Linked DNA regions of Homo sapiens: regions 2, 3 and 4 are each linked to region 1. The links are contacts of gene promoters, found by promoter capture Hi-C in blood cells and fetal thymus (Javierre and others, 2016). All regions are on one chromosome and are shown on one strand. Each heading gives the region's core, a stretch centred on a gene start or on the middle of the fragment in contact. The rest is flanking DNA. Distances are from core to core; before and after follow the strand shown. Region 1 holds the start of IRAG1 (inositol 1,4,5-triphosphate receptor associated 1). Region 2 overlaps CAND1.11 (a long non-coding RNA gene). Region 3 overlaps CAND1.11 (a long non-coding RNA gene). Region 4 overlaps CAND1.11 (a long non-coding RNA gene).

Region 1 (2,867 bases), core at 187-2,686:
TGAAAGAGGAACCCAAGGAGCTTCACACTTGGGGGTTCTAATGCACATTGAAGTTGGAGAAACAGCACTGAAGAGTTTGGTCAGTTCCTTCTAGACCATATACTTGCAATTCTAGTAGTTACCACCATGTGGCTTTGTGGGGGACGGGGGTTGTGGGGGGAGCCTGTACCTCCATGTGGACAGGTGTGGACACTTGAGAGAAAGCATGGCTAGTACCCAAGACAGCCTCCTCTGGTTTCATTTACAAAAAACAATTATTGATGAGGGTAGCGGACTTCATGCGCTGCACCCCTGTTAGTGATCTCTCTTACAACAACCACACAGAAGAGACAGGACTTCCTGAGAACCACATGCCTGAGGAAGGTGCTGGGATGGAGGCTCAGTGGGCCAGGCTCAGTGGAGAGCATCTGCCACTGCTGCACAACTGATCTGTGGCCAGGAGCTGAGCATAAGGACTGTGTTTGCCAGGAGAGCTTGAGGCCATAGGCCTGGGAGCTCCAATCCCTAGTGCTCTCTACCATGACTACTGAATGTTTTCTGGGTGGCTAATGATGGCCAAAAGCTAGGGTTCCCGGATTTATCAAACAAAAATAGAGGATGACTAATTAAATTTGAATTTCAGATAAATAACAGTCTTTAATACAAGTATGTCCTGTGTTTATCTGAAATCCAAATTTAAATGGGTGTCCTGTAATTTATCTAGCAACTTTACCTAGGGTTTCTCTGTGCTGCTCTAACCACAGAAGGGGCTGAAGTCCCCATGTGGCTTGCCCCCAGCTTGGAGCTCCATGATCCTGGCCTTGGGTAGGCCCTATACCCAAGGCAGGTGAAGAGTGTGTATGGACAGGGTATGGATTTCCTGGGCAGGGGCAGGAAGCTCATTCATACTGATCTAGCTCTTATGAGATGCTGGCAGTGTGTTAAACACTTGACTAACATCTCATTTAATCCCCTGACTACCTAGTGAGTCGGGCATTATCATTATTATTTCCACTTTAGAGATGAGGAGACTGAGGCTCCACGATGTTAAGACCACAGGCTGTTTAATGGAGGAGCAAGGTTGACATCCCTGGGGCTGGTGCCAAGTCTGGGAGTAGCTGAATCTCCCAGGCCATTCTCTCTGGCAATCCCAAGAGTTTAACGCAGTGGGAGCAGCCCCTGCCCCCGAATCCCCAGGACAGGAACCATTCCCAGTTTCTCTTGGCGCTGGCCCAGGGTCTTCTCCAGGCTCACATGCTTGCTGGAGGCTCCAGGCGGGTGGGGAGATCTGCAGGGTCCCTTTGTTCCCGTCCGGCCAGGACAGTGTCCAGTGGCACGAGTTGCCATGGGGACTGCCATCTGCTGTGTGGATACCCATCGGAGGGGCCCAGGGTGAGCGACTGCCCCAAAGGCCCAGCCTGCCCTGAGCCCTGAGGCCAGCTGGTCGGCTTTCCCTGCCATTATCCCCCGAGCCAGGCCGGAGTGGGGCTCCCAGAGGAGCTCTCGGCTCTAAGTCCCAGCCCCTCTCAGAGGAGGCGTGCGGCCGAGGTTCTGCAGCCAGAGGCTTCTCGGCTCTGAGCTCCGGAGCCAGATGTAACATTGACCTTAAATGGTAAAAGCTCCCCAGAGTGAAGAGAGGCTGGCCAGAGGAGGAAAGGAGAATAACTCAGTTTTAGGTAAGCCTCCCCTATATCCTAGAATAACCTGCCTCTTCGGCTGGGAAGCGGAGGGAACCTTCTCTTCCTTAAAGGTACAGGGTGCTGGGATGGGGGTGCTAAACTTTAACTTTCCAGGGGAGCTGGCTTTGTTGGGTGGCATTTCAGCTGAGTATCTTTATTGTTGCTGTCTTAAGTTTTAAATCAGAAGTGAATCTTGCCAGTCCTAACTTAACTAGATTGTGCTCCTTTTGCTTGCCGTTGGAAAGTGTGCACAGCTCAGGGTGAAAATGTGGGTCCTGACAGGCGATTGCAACCCCTAGCTTTCCTGTGGGCCCCTTTGTGGCAACAGTGGGGTCTTCAGCTTTGGCAAGTCTGCTAAGCAGAGCTTTCTCCCCTCTGTGCTTCCTGTGTCTCTCTCTCTGTCCCCCTACGCCCCTCTGCCTTGAACCTGGGCTGGCATGACCTGTCTAGATCCTTAAGCCTGCCTCTATTTCTGTCTCTGCCCTTCCCATCCTGTGTTCTTGTCACAGTCCCTGTTTTTATCTCTGTCCCTGTCTCCTCTTTTGTCTCCAGCTTCCCCTGGCCTGTGCCCTTCCCTGCTCCCTAGAGGGGGTGTATGTGCCCGGCCCGTGCCCGGCCCTGCTCACCTCCAGGGCTCCGAGTTGAAGCGATTCCTAGAGTGAGCACCATTTGAACTGGCTTTTTCCAAAGGAAAAGCCAGTGGAAGCCAGAGGCCAGAGAGAGGCCCAGCTGTCTTGCTCCCTCCTGCCCAGGAAACAGTTGTAAAGGCTATAGAGGCTCTGCAGTTTGAGTAAACAGCAGCCCGGGGTCTGGGACCCCTGGCCAGCACTCCAGCCTCCCAGAGCTCGGCAGCTGCTGAACACTCTTCAGGCTGCTCACTGGGGTGGCACAGGGAAGTAAATCTGGTCTGAGCAGAGTCTTTTGCAGGGAAAAGGAGGAAGCTTCCTGGGACTGTGAGGCTGGGGGTCCAAAGGAGTCAGGACCTGCCAAGGATTGTATTGCCCCCACCGAGGGACGATGACATGCTAGTGAGGCAGGTGGAGTTGCCCATCCCCCTGCACTCCCCTACCCCAACAGTTCTATGGGGGAGGGAACTCAGGTTAAGTGACTTGCCTAAGGTCGTTCCACCAAGATGGAGCGGAGCTAGGACTCAAACCCTGTATGAGTTTGTATGACTCTAACTCCAGTGCCCATGCCTCTCAACACAGA
Region 2 (2,867 bases), core at 250-2,749, 320 kb after region 1:
TCTAGAGGAGCATCCGGGGATGGGTTTTTTAACAAATGTTGCTGGGATCCTCTATTGTATGCAAGGCACGTGGAGAAGGGGAGGGAAAGAGAAGCTATGCAAGCTCCCAGGATGAACAAGACATAGTGTCAGCCCTCACAGATTATAAACTAGGGGAAAAGACTGTTGTATACCAAGCTAAGAGGAATGAAAAGGGTATAGGATAGGGCTGTCTGCACTCGCCATGGGATGCAACAGGAGCCACTTTTAAGTCCTGTGCTAGGTATGGCAGGGTCAAAGGTCAGAGAGAGGGTCCTCTCCGGTCTAGAGATAGGAAAGCTGGCTAGGCAGAAGGGATACACTTACATACCATCCCAGAACCTTGAAAAAGAGGAGAGAGCTCTAAAGTTCTGGGAATCAGTTGCCACTCCAGTTTTATACCTCTAAGTCAATACCTGTTTCTCTAAAGGCCTTCCATTTCTCCATGAGCAAAAAACAAGAGCCACAGCTTCCCTCCCCACTGCCCCACTCCCAGCATCCAAGGCCTCATTCATTTCAAAAGAAGCCAAGATTTCCAAACTTGTTCCCAGACTTGTCGCTTACCTTGTCACTGGCAGGGCTTCTCTCTGAGAGATGTGTCAGGGTCCTATCTCCCAGGGAGCCTGCAGCTAAGTCTGGTCAAGAGAAGAGAGGCTGGATCTTCCCATTAGACAATCAGAATCATGGTGCTGTTTCTGCCTTGCTGGCTTTCTGTGTGCTGCTTCTGGTCTAACATGTAGCCCAAACAGATAGGCACAGGAGACAGCTCATCTGGGACATACACTCAGCCCAGGAATGATGACTACAATGCCAGCAGGTCCATTCATTCAGACCTCCCTCCTGAACAAAAGCTTCTGTGATTCAGGACTTTGTAAAGATGACAAAAGGATCGTTTGAAAGACCTAAATCCCCCTATGACATTAACCATGTAATATGGTTTGTGAATTATACATACATATAGATAAACATGCATGCATGCATAAACATACATATACATACACATGCATGCATATATGTGTATATACATGTATATGCATTTGTATGCATGTACATATAGGTCTATGTATATACATGTACATACACATATATACAGATATGTGTGTATATATAGGCATATATACACATATGTGTGTGTGTGTGTATACATGTATACACATATACAGTGACTTTGAATAAAGTACAGTCATGGCCTAGGGGCCTGAGGTTAACTGCCAATCCTCCTCACCAGAATGAAACTGGCTACAGGTAGAGTTTCTGTGACGGCCTTTTATGGTCTACCTCTGCCTGATCTGACTGTGCATCTGCTCCCCCACTTCTCTATCTTGATGATCTATATCCCACACAGACCCACACTTCCTTTACAGGTCCCATTTACCAACTGATAAATATGGAGAATTATCAGTAATAGATCTGATCTATATCTGTGCAGGCTATAGATCATCACTTTTGCCACAATTAAAAATAAAAATAAAAAAGGAGACCATCTCCTTTTTTATTTTTATTTTTAATTGTGGCAAAAAAACACACGCACAATGGAAAATTTACTATCTTAACCATTCTTAAGTGTACAGTTCAGTAGTGTTAAGTATGTTCACACTGTTGTTCTCCATCTCCCCTTTAGCACTTACCTAAAAGCCTTGAAGCAACACAGTCTTCATTTGTTATGGTTAGATTGCTTCCAGAAATTTGACTCCTCTTTGCTCCTGCACAGATCTGTGTAGAGCTGAAGTGCAGGAGGTTCATACTTGACCTCAAATGCACTCTGCTAATGGCTATTATAAATTATCTTCACATTTTGCTGACTCCATGGATAAAAGCAGGTCAGCTTCCTGCAGCCAAGAGTCTTGGGCCAGGCAGTGGCATGGGCTCCCTTCCAGGGAATCGGTCTCAAAAAGGAGTGGATCTACTTGTGTTCACAACACAAGAGTTGGACTGTTTGCGTCAGATGGGGACACCAGACGACTGTGCCTTTAAGGGTGGTAGGCACCCACCTGTGTGGCCCCAGCTTTGCCCTTTGGAGGAGGCACTTGAAAGAAGCAAGTTATGTAATGTCAGGTTCCTCATCTGAAAAATGGGAATAATATCCACCTTATAGATTATTTCAAAGCTTGAAAAAGATGATGTTCATGAACTGTTTGTTTTCAAGTAGTAAATAGTTTAAAATAGTCACATGGTAAGTGCTTTTTCCCCCAAGTTTAATTTTTCAAATTCATTTCTATCTTGCAGTATACTATACTTCATAATATGTCCACTCTTTGAACTTCTATTTAATTGACAAATGAAAGTGTATATATTTGTGCAACATGCACAACATGATGTTTGATAATGACTACATTGTGGAATGACTAAAAATTAACATAACCATTATCTCACATACAAAGAGACTTCACAAAGTTTATGAAAAATGTGTCTTATGAGAAAACTATGCATGGATTTAAAATTTTTTCTGCACCAACATAAACTCATACTAACTTGTTATAATATGTTGAACAGAATCTAGTTTGAGGCACTAAGGAGGATAAGACATGAGTTTGAAAAGAGCCTCTATCAGACCAACATGAATTCTACTAAAATTGAAGAACAAACATCAGATTTATGGTGAAGCTTGGGTGGAAGAATGATAAAATCACTGATGCTTTACAAAAGTTTATAGGGACAAAGCCCCAAAGAAATCAGCAGTTTGCAAACAGATACCTCATTTTAAGAAAGGATGAGACAATGTTGAAGATGAAGCCTGCAGTGACCGACCATCCACATCAACTTGTGAGGAAAAAAATCATCCCATTTGTGCCCTAATTGAAGAGGACTGACAATTACCAGCACAAAAAAATAACTAACACCATAGACAT
Region 3 (2,867 bases), core at 165-2,664, 300 kb after region 1:
CATTTTCTCCTCCCTTTCCAATTCTACCTTTCCTGCCTTGAATATTAGACTGACTCAGTGCCCCTGTTCCTCCACATCACGTGATGCTCTGCGTGGGTTTCTCAGGGGTGAAGGGTTGACTCAGCCTGGCTGCCTGAACCCACTTTCCAGCTCTCTGGCCCGCGGCACATCCTCAGCATGGCCTCCACACCACAAAGCAAGATGCGCCCTCTCTGCCTTCACTGCATTCAAATCCAAAAGAATTTTTCCATGATTTGTCACTTTCAGAGAGGGCTTACATAAAGAGTAGTTGTTTCCAGAGCAAAGCAAAGAATAATCAATGGAATTTAAAACAATCCTAAGAAAGGCCAGCCCCAGTGGAGCCAAGAAAGTTCTCCTGCCCCAGTTGAATCACTATTATGCACAGTCCTGGCCCTGCAGGAACCCAAGAGCCCTCATATTGGAAGGGTATTCCAGGTCCCCCACCCCTGATGCCTTTACTCAAGTCTGTTTGAAAGACCTTAGCTTTAGTGCAAGGCTCCCAGGGAAACAGATAAGAGGGTGTCCCTCCTACCTTACCTATTCTCCATATGCTGACAATTCAGCTTTCGCTCCAGCCCAAGCCTCTTCTGAGTTCCAGTCTCATTTATTCAAGTGCCTACCTGACCTTCGTGGATGTCTAACGGAGATCTCAAACTTAACATGCTCAAATCCGAACTCTGGATTTCCTCCCTGAACTCGGAAGCTTCTCTGCTTGTGATCTTCATATCTCAGTTAAAGACACCACTATTTGTGGGGAAAAGCAAGAGAGATCAGATTGTTACTGTGTCTGTGTAGAAAGAAGTAGACATAGGAGACTCCATTTTGTTATGTACTAAGAAAAATTCTTCTGCCTTGAGATTCTGTTAATCTATAACCTTACCCCCAACCCTGTGCTCTCTGAAACATGTGCTGTGTCAACTCAGAGTTAAATGGATTAAGGGCGGTGCAAGATGTGCTTTGTTAAACAGATGCTTGAAGGCAGCATGCTCCTTAAGAGTCATCACCACTCCCTAATCTCAAGTACCCAGGGACACAAAAACTGCGGAAGGCCGCAGGGACCTCTGCCTAGGAAAGCCAGGTATTGTCCAAGGTTTCTCCCCATGTGATAGTCTGAAATATGGCCTCGTGGGAAGGGAAAGACCTGACCGTCCCCCAGCCCGACACCCGTAAAGGGTCTGTGCTGAGGAGGATTAGTATAAGAGGAAGGCATGCCTCTTGCAGTTGAGACAAGAGGAAGGCATCTGTCTCCTGCCCGTCCCTGGGCAATGGAATGTCTCGGTATAAAACCCGATTGTATGCTCCATCTACTGAGATAGGGAAAAACCGCCTTAGGGCTGGAGGTGGGACCTGCGGGCAGCAATACTGCTTTGTAAAGCATTGAGATGTTTATGTGTATGCATATCTAAAAGCACAGCACTTAATCCTTTACATAGTCTATGATGCAAAGACCTTTGTTCACGTGTTTGTCTGCTGACCCTCTCCCCACAATTGTCTTGTGACCCTGACACATCCCCCTCTTCGAGAAACACCCACAAATGATGAATAAATACTAAGGGAACTCAGAGGCTGGCGGGATCCTCCATATGCTGAACGCTGGTTCCCCGGGTCCCCTTATTTCTTTCTCTATACTTTGTCTCTGTGTCTTTTTCTTTTCCAAATCTCTCGTCCCACCTTACGAGAAACACCCACAGGTGTGGAGGGGCAACCCACCCCTACACTATTCACTCAGTTTCTCAAGCAGAAATGTGGCAAAAGTACATGAAGTCTCCCTTGCCCACCACATCCTACTCTATACCCCAAACTTGTCTCCAGTGCTGTCCCATCAAATTAAGCCACCCATCATCCCTTGGCTAAAAGACCAGCAGTTCCTTGCTTCCATGTGACCCCCTCTCCAATCTATTTTCCACGTAGCAGCTAGAGCAATCTTTTAAATCAGATCACATCAATTTCTGCTTTAGCTCTTTCCTTTTATAACTTCCTCACCAAGGCCAAAAAGCTGTGCATGAATATGTCTCCTGCCTTCTTCCCTGGTCTCATTTTATGCCACTTTCTCATTTGCTGTACTTCAGCCACATCAAGCTTCTTTCCAGTTCTGGAACATGTTTCCTTCTCCACCTCAGGGCCTTAGCACTTTTTGTTTTCTGTTCTCTGCACATTTTTTTCCCCTATGACATCCTTCAGATCTTAGCTTAAAGGTCACTTCCTCAGAAAGCCTACTCCTAATACCCTTCCTAAGTAGGTGCCCTCATAATTTGTTGTCATTTTCTTTTGCAGTCTTATTCTTTATATAACATTAAGCCAATTAGCAGTTGACAATTAATTATATGTTTACATGTTTATTGCCAGTCTCCCTGCCATTGTCTGCTATCCCCATAAGAATGAGCCTAGACTGGAGACATATTAGCAAGTCCAGCTGGAGACAGTCCAGGTCCTGCCAGACAGAGGCAGGGCTTGAGGCAGACACAAGGCTCCTTGCAGGAAGAAACCATGCCTGAGTTGTTTACACAGGACTTGGCAGATACATTTATTAGATGACTGGATGGGTGGATGGATGGGTGGATGGATAGATGGATGGATGGATGGGGGAATTTCAGCTGTGGGCAAAAGGCAATAGAAACCATGTCTGAGGAATGGGTGGTGACTGAACAGAACAGACCCTGCACTAGCAAGAATTCTATAGTCCCAAGTTCAGAGAAAATGTCATTTTAGCACCTAGATGAGAAAGAGATTAGGATAAGTCAGGCTTGCATGTGCTCAGGTAATACCTGCCTGCATCATGACAGGGAGAATTAAAACCAAAAAATAAAGAATATATATAGTCTGACTTTCTCCTTCTTCACTTTGGC
Region 4 (2,867 bases), core at 269-2,768, 280 kb after region 1:
CAGCTACTTGGAAGGCTGAGGCAGGTGAATCACTTGAACCTAGGAGGCAGAGGTTGCAGTGAGCCGAGATCGTGCCACTGCAGTCCAGCCTGGCGACCGTCTCAAAAAAAAAAAAAAACAATCAGTTTGCTTTTTGAAACCCAGAATCAATAACTGGGCTTAGTTAATAACTGGTGCCTGAAGAAGAGAATGAATTATCTTAGTTTAGTTCTTCATATACATTGAAGAATGATTATGAGACCTTAAATTTATCAGCATTTTGAATTAAGGTAAAGGAAGACTTTCCTTTGTTAAGTAGAAAGAGTGTCCTACTATTACTACCATTCACAACAACTAGTTTGTGTGAACTAGGGTTTTCTATCTTAACTCAGTTAAAAGCAACAGAAAGGAATGGATCAAATGGTGCAGCAGCTATGTGGGTAGCATTATCTTCCTGTGTTCCAGACTGGAATGAACTTATGAACAGGCAAGCACACCCATCATAATAAATAAAATCTTATCTAGGTTTTGGTTTTGTATTTCTTATTTTGTAGTATTTTTCTATGTTATATTTAAATGGGAATATAACATTATATGTGATACTTTTGTTATGTTTTAATTTTTGTTGTATCTGATAAAATTATTTTATGTTTGCTTAAAAAAAGAAAGTATGGAAATGAGATAATACATGTGAATATACTAAAGTGCTCTGTTGACTGTAAATCATTGAACAAATGTAGTAACTATTACATTTATTTCTAAAAGGGTGCTCTCTGGAGGGTAATGGAGGTATGTGGTCAAGAAATAGTTAAAAGTCAAAACCCTAAGTGGCTACAGATGTTTAATGGTAGACCAGAAGGATGGGGAATCAATGACTTTTGGCAGTAAGGAGCCCTTTGTAGGTCAGCATCCACCCCTGCTGACCAGCCTGCTCCCATGATGTGGCCCAGCATGAGGCACAGCTGAGGAGAAGCCAATCCTGGGCACAGCTGGAGGCAGGCAGAGACCCTCACAGGTGTCTAGGCCATGCTCCTCAACTGGACAAGGCTGGTAGAAGCCACCTAGGGGGATCTGGGCCAAGGAAGAGCTTTAGAAACAAGGCTGGAAAGAGAGTTTTTATTCAGGTTGCCATAGGTGGAATAGAGCCAGCAGCACGGACCAAATGTCAGGTGCAAAAGACAAGGTGAAGCCAAACATGGAACAATGGCAGGTCAGGAACTGGCAGGATTAGGAACAAGCCAGAACACAGTGTGTGGAGCTGTCAGGTGATGTTCAGGTCCAAAGCTATCAAGCAAAGGATATTGAGACCCATGTTAGTGTCATGCTGGCTTTGTGACCCAAAGACAGTCCCTAGTATCTTAAGGAACCCATGCAGAGCCAAACATACTGGATAAAAATAAACTTCCTCAAAAACATGACTACTGGGCCGGGAGCAGTGGCTCACGCCTATAATCCCAGCAACTCAGGAGGCTAAGATGGCGGGATTGCTTGAGTCCAGGAGTTTGAGACCAGCCTGAGCAACATAGCAAGATGTCTATAAAATATTAAAAATCACCTGGGTCTGGTGGCACACACCTGTAGTCCTAGCTACTTGGGAGGCTGACGCGGGAAGATCACTTGACCCAGGGAGGTTGAAGCTGCAGTGAGCCATGATCACCACACTACTGCATCTGGCCTGGGTAACAGAACAAGACCCCATCTCTTAAAAAAAAAAACAGCTATTGAAAATTTTCTCCTTTATTGTGAGCTTTCAGCACCTGCTGATGGAGAGACTGAGAATTCCCCACTATTGATATTAAGACCCATTTTTTTTTTGAGACAGAGTCTCCCTCTGTCTTGCCCAGGCTGAAGTGCAGTGGCACCTCGGCTCACGGCAGCCTCTGCCTCCCGGGTTCAAGCGATTCTCCTGTCTCAGCTGGGATTACAGGTATGTGCCACCACACTTGGCTAATTTTGTATTTTTAGTAGAGATGAGGTTTCACCATGTTGGCCAGGCTTCTCTCGAACTCTTGACCTCAGGAGTCCTTGGCCTCCGAAGTGCTGGGATTACAGGCGTGAGCCACTGCACCTGGCCAAGACTCATTTTAAGCAAGCAAATCATTTCAATGCAGACAGTATGGCATGCAGACAGCTTGAGATGCAGAAGAAGACTTAGAAGCAAAACCAGACAATAAATGAAGAGGATGCTGACAGAATCAGGACAGAGATAATCTCCTGGACACATCTGGCTACAGCTGTCACAGTCCCCTAGAGAAGAGGGACTGGCATCAATAACTGAACAGCACTTCACCCTTTTTGTGATGATTTTGTGTCTATACATTTGCTTAATTCCACTTGTATAGTTCTCATCTCCTAGTGCCAGTATAGTCATTCTAGACTGACCTCTGTGTTGCCATTGTCTTTACAGAGTTCAGGAGAAAACAAAACACCATAAGAAATGCTTGTTGTTATTTAAACAAACAAACAAAAGATACCTAGGCCAGGTGGATTCCAACAGGTAGTCACTGTTTAGGTTCTGCTGCCCAAATGGAGCCAATCAGGTAACTGCTGTCCTTGCCCACTTGGCAAATGTAGAACAAGCCAGAACATTAAAAAACACAGCCTGAACATGCCTCATGGCTATGTGGGTGTGCCACATATTACACAAGGACATAAATTAATTAAGAAGCAAGGAAGGGACTTAGGACTGGGTGAGACATGAAGGAGTCCAAGAAACAGCAAGAACTCCAATCACTGAGAACATGACCTGGGAACCTGCCAGCCAACTGTGCCATCAAGTTAATAAGAATGTGTCGGCCGGGCGTGGTGGCTCACGCCTGTAATCCCAACACTTTGGGAGGCCGAGGCGGGTGGATTACAAGGTCAAGAGATCGAGGCCATCCTGGCCA

What was found. Contacts are between HindIII fragments. The CHiCAGO score rates a contact against its expected background, and 5 or more counts as called.
Region 2: a fragment that was not itself captured here is called in contact with the fragment with the promoter of IRAG1 in region 1 in 1 of 17 cell types (neutrophils); the score reaches 6.2 in neutrophils.
Region 3: a fragment that was not itself captured here is called in contact with the fragment with the promoter of IRAG1 in region 1 in 1 of 17 cell types (neutrophils); the score reaches 8.2 in neutrophils.
Region 4: a contact is called between a fragment that was not itself captured here and the fragment with the promoter of IRAG1 in region 1, in 9 of 17 cell types (M2 macrophages, megakaryocytes, naive CD4 T cells and 6 more). The highest score is 8.7, in M2 macrophages.

What each region holds. Positions count from the first base shown.
Region 1 is chr11:10,692,324-10,695,190 of GRCh38, reverse strand. IRAG1 (inositol 1,4,5-triphosphate receptor associated 1) reads left to right here and starts at 1,436. Exons shown (of 21, transcript NM_130385.4): 1 at 1,436-1,655. The coding sequence starts at 1,589. The HindIII fragment of the contact is 5,409 bases long and covers 1-2,601 here.
Region 2 is chr11:10,372,524-10,375,390 of GRCh38, reverse strand. All of the region lies in intron 2 of CAND1.11 (a long non-coding RNA gene), which reads right to left. Among named protein-coding and RNA genes, the nearest start is that of CAND1.11, 66 kb to the right of the region's middle. The HindIII fragment of the contact is 1,256 bases long and covers 872-2,127 here.
Region 3 is chr11:10,390,180-10,393,046 of GRCh38, reverse strand. All of the region lies in intron 2 of CAND1.11 (a long non-coding RNA gene), which reads right to left. Among named protein-coding and RNA genes, the nearest start is that of AMPD3, 64 kb to the left of the region's middle. RefSeq lists an enhancer at 1-733. The HindIII fragment of the contact is 1,376 bases long and covers 727-2,102 here.
Region 4 is chr11:10,415,172-10,418,038 of GRCh38, reverse strand. All of the region lies in intron 3 of CAND1.11 (a long non-coding RNA gene), which reads right to left. Among named protein-coding and RNA genes, the nearest start is that of AMPD3, 39 kb to the left of the region's middle. RefSeq lists a silencer at 1,765-1,978. The HindIII fragment of the contact is 6,018 bases long and covers 1-2,867 here.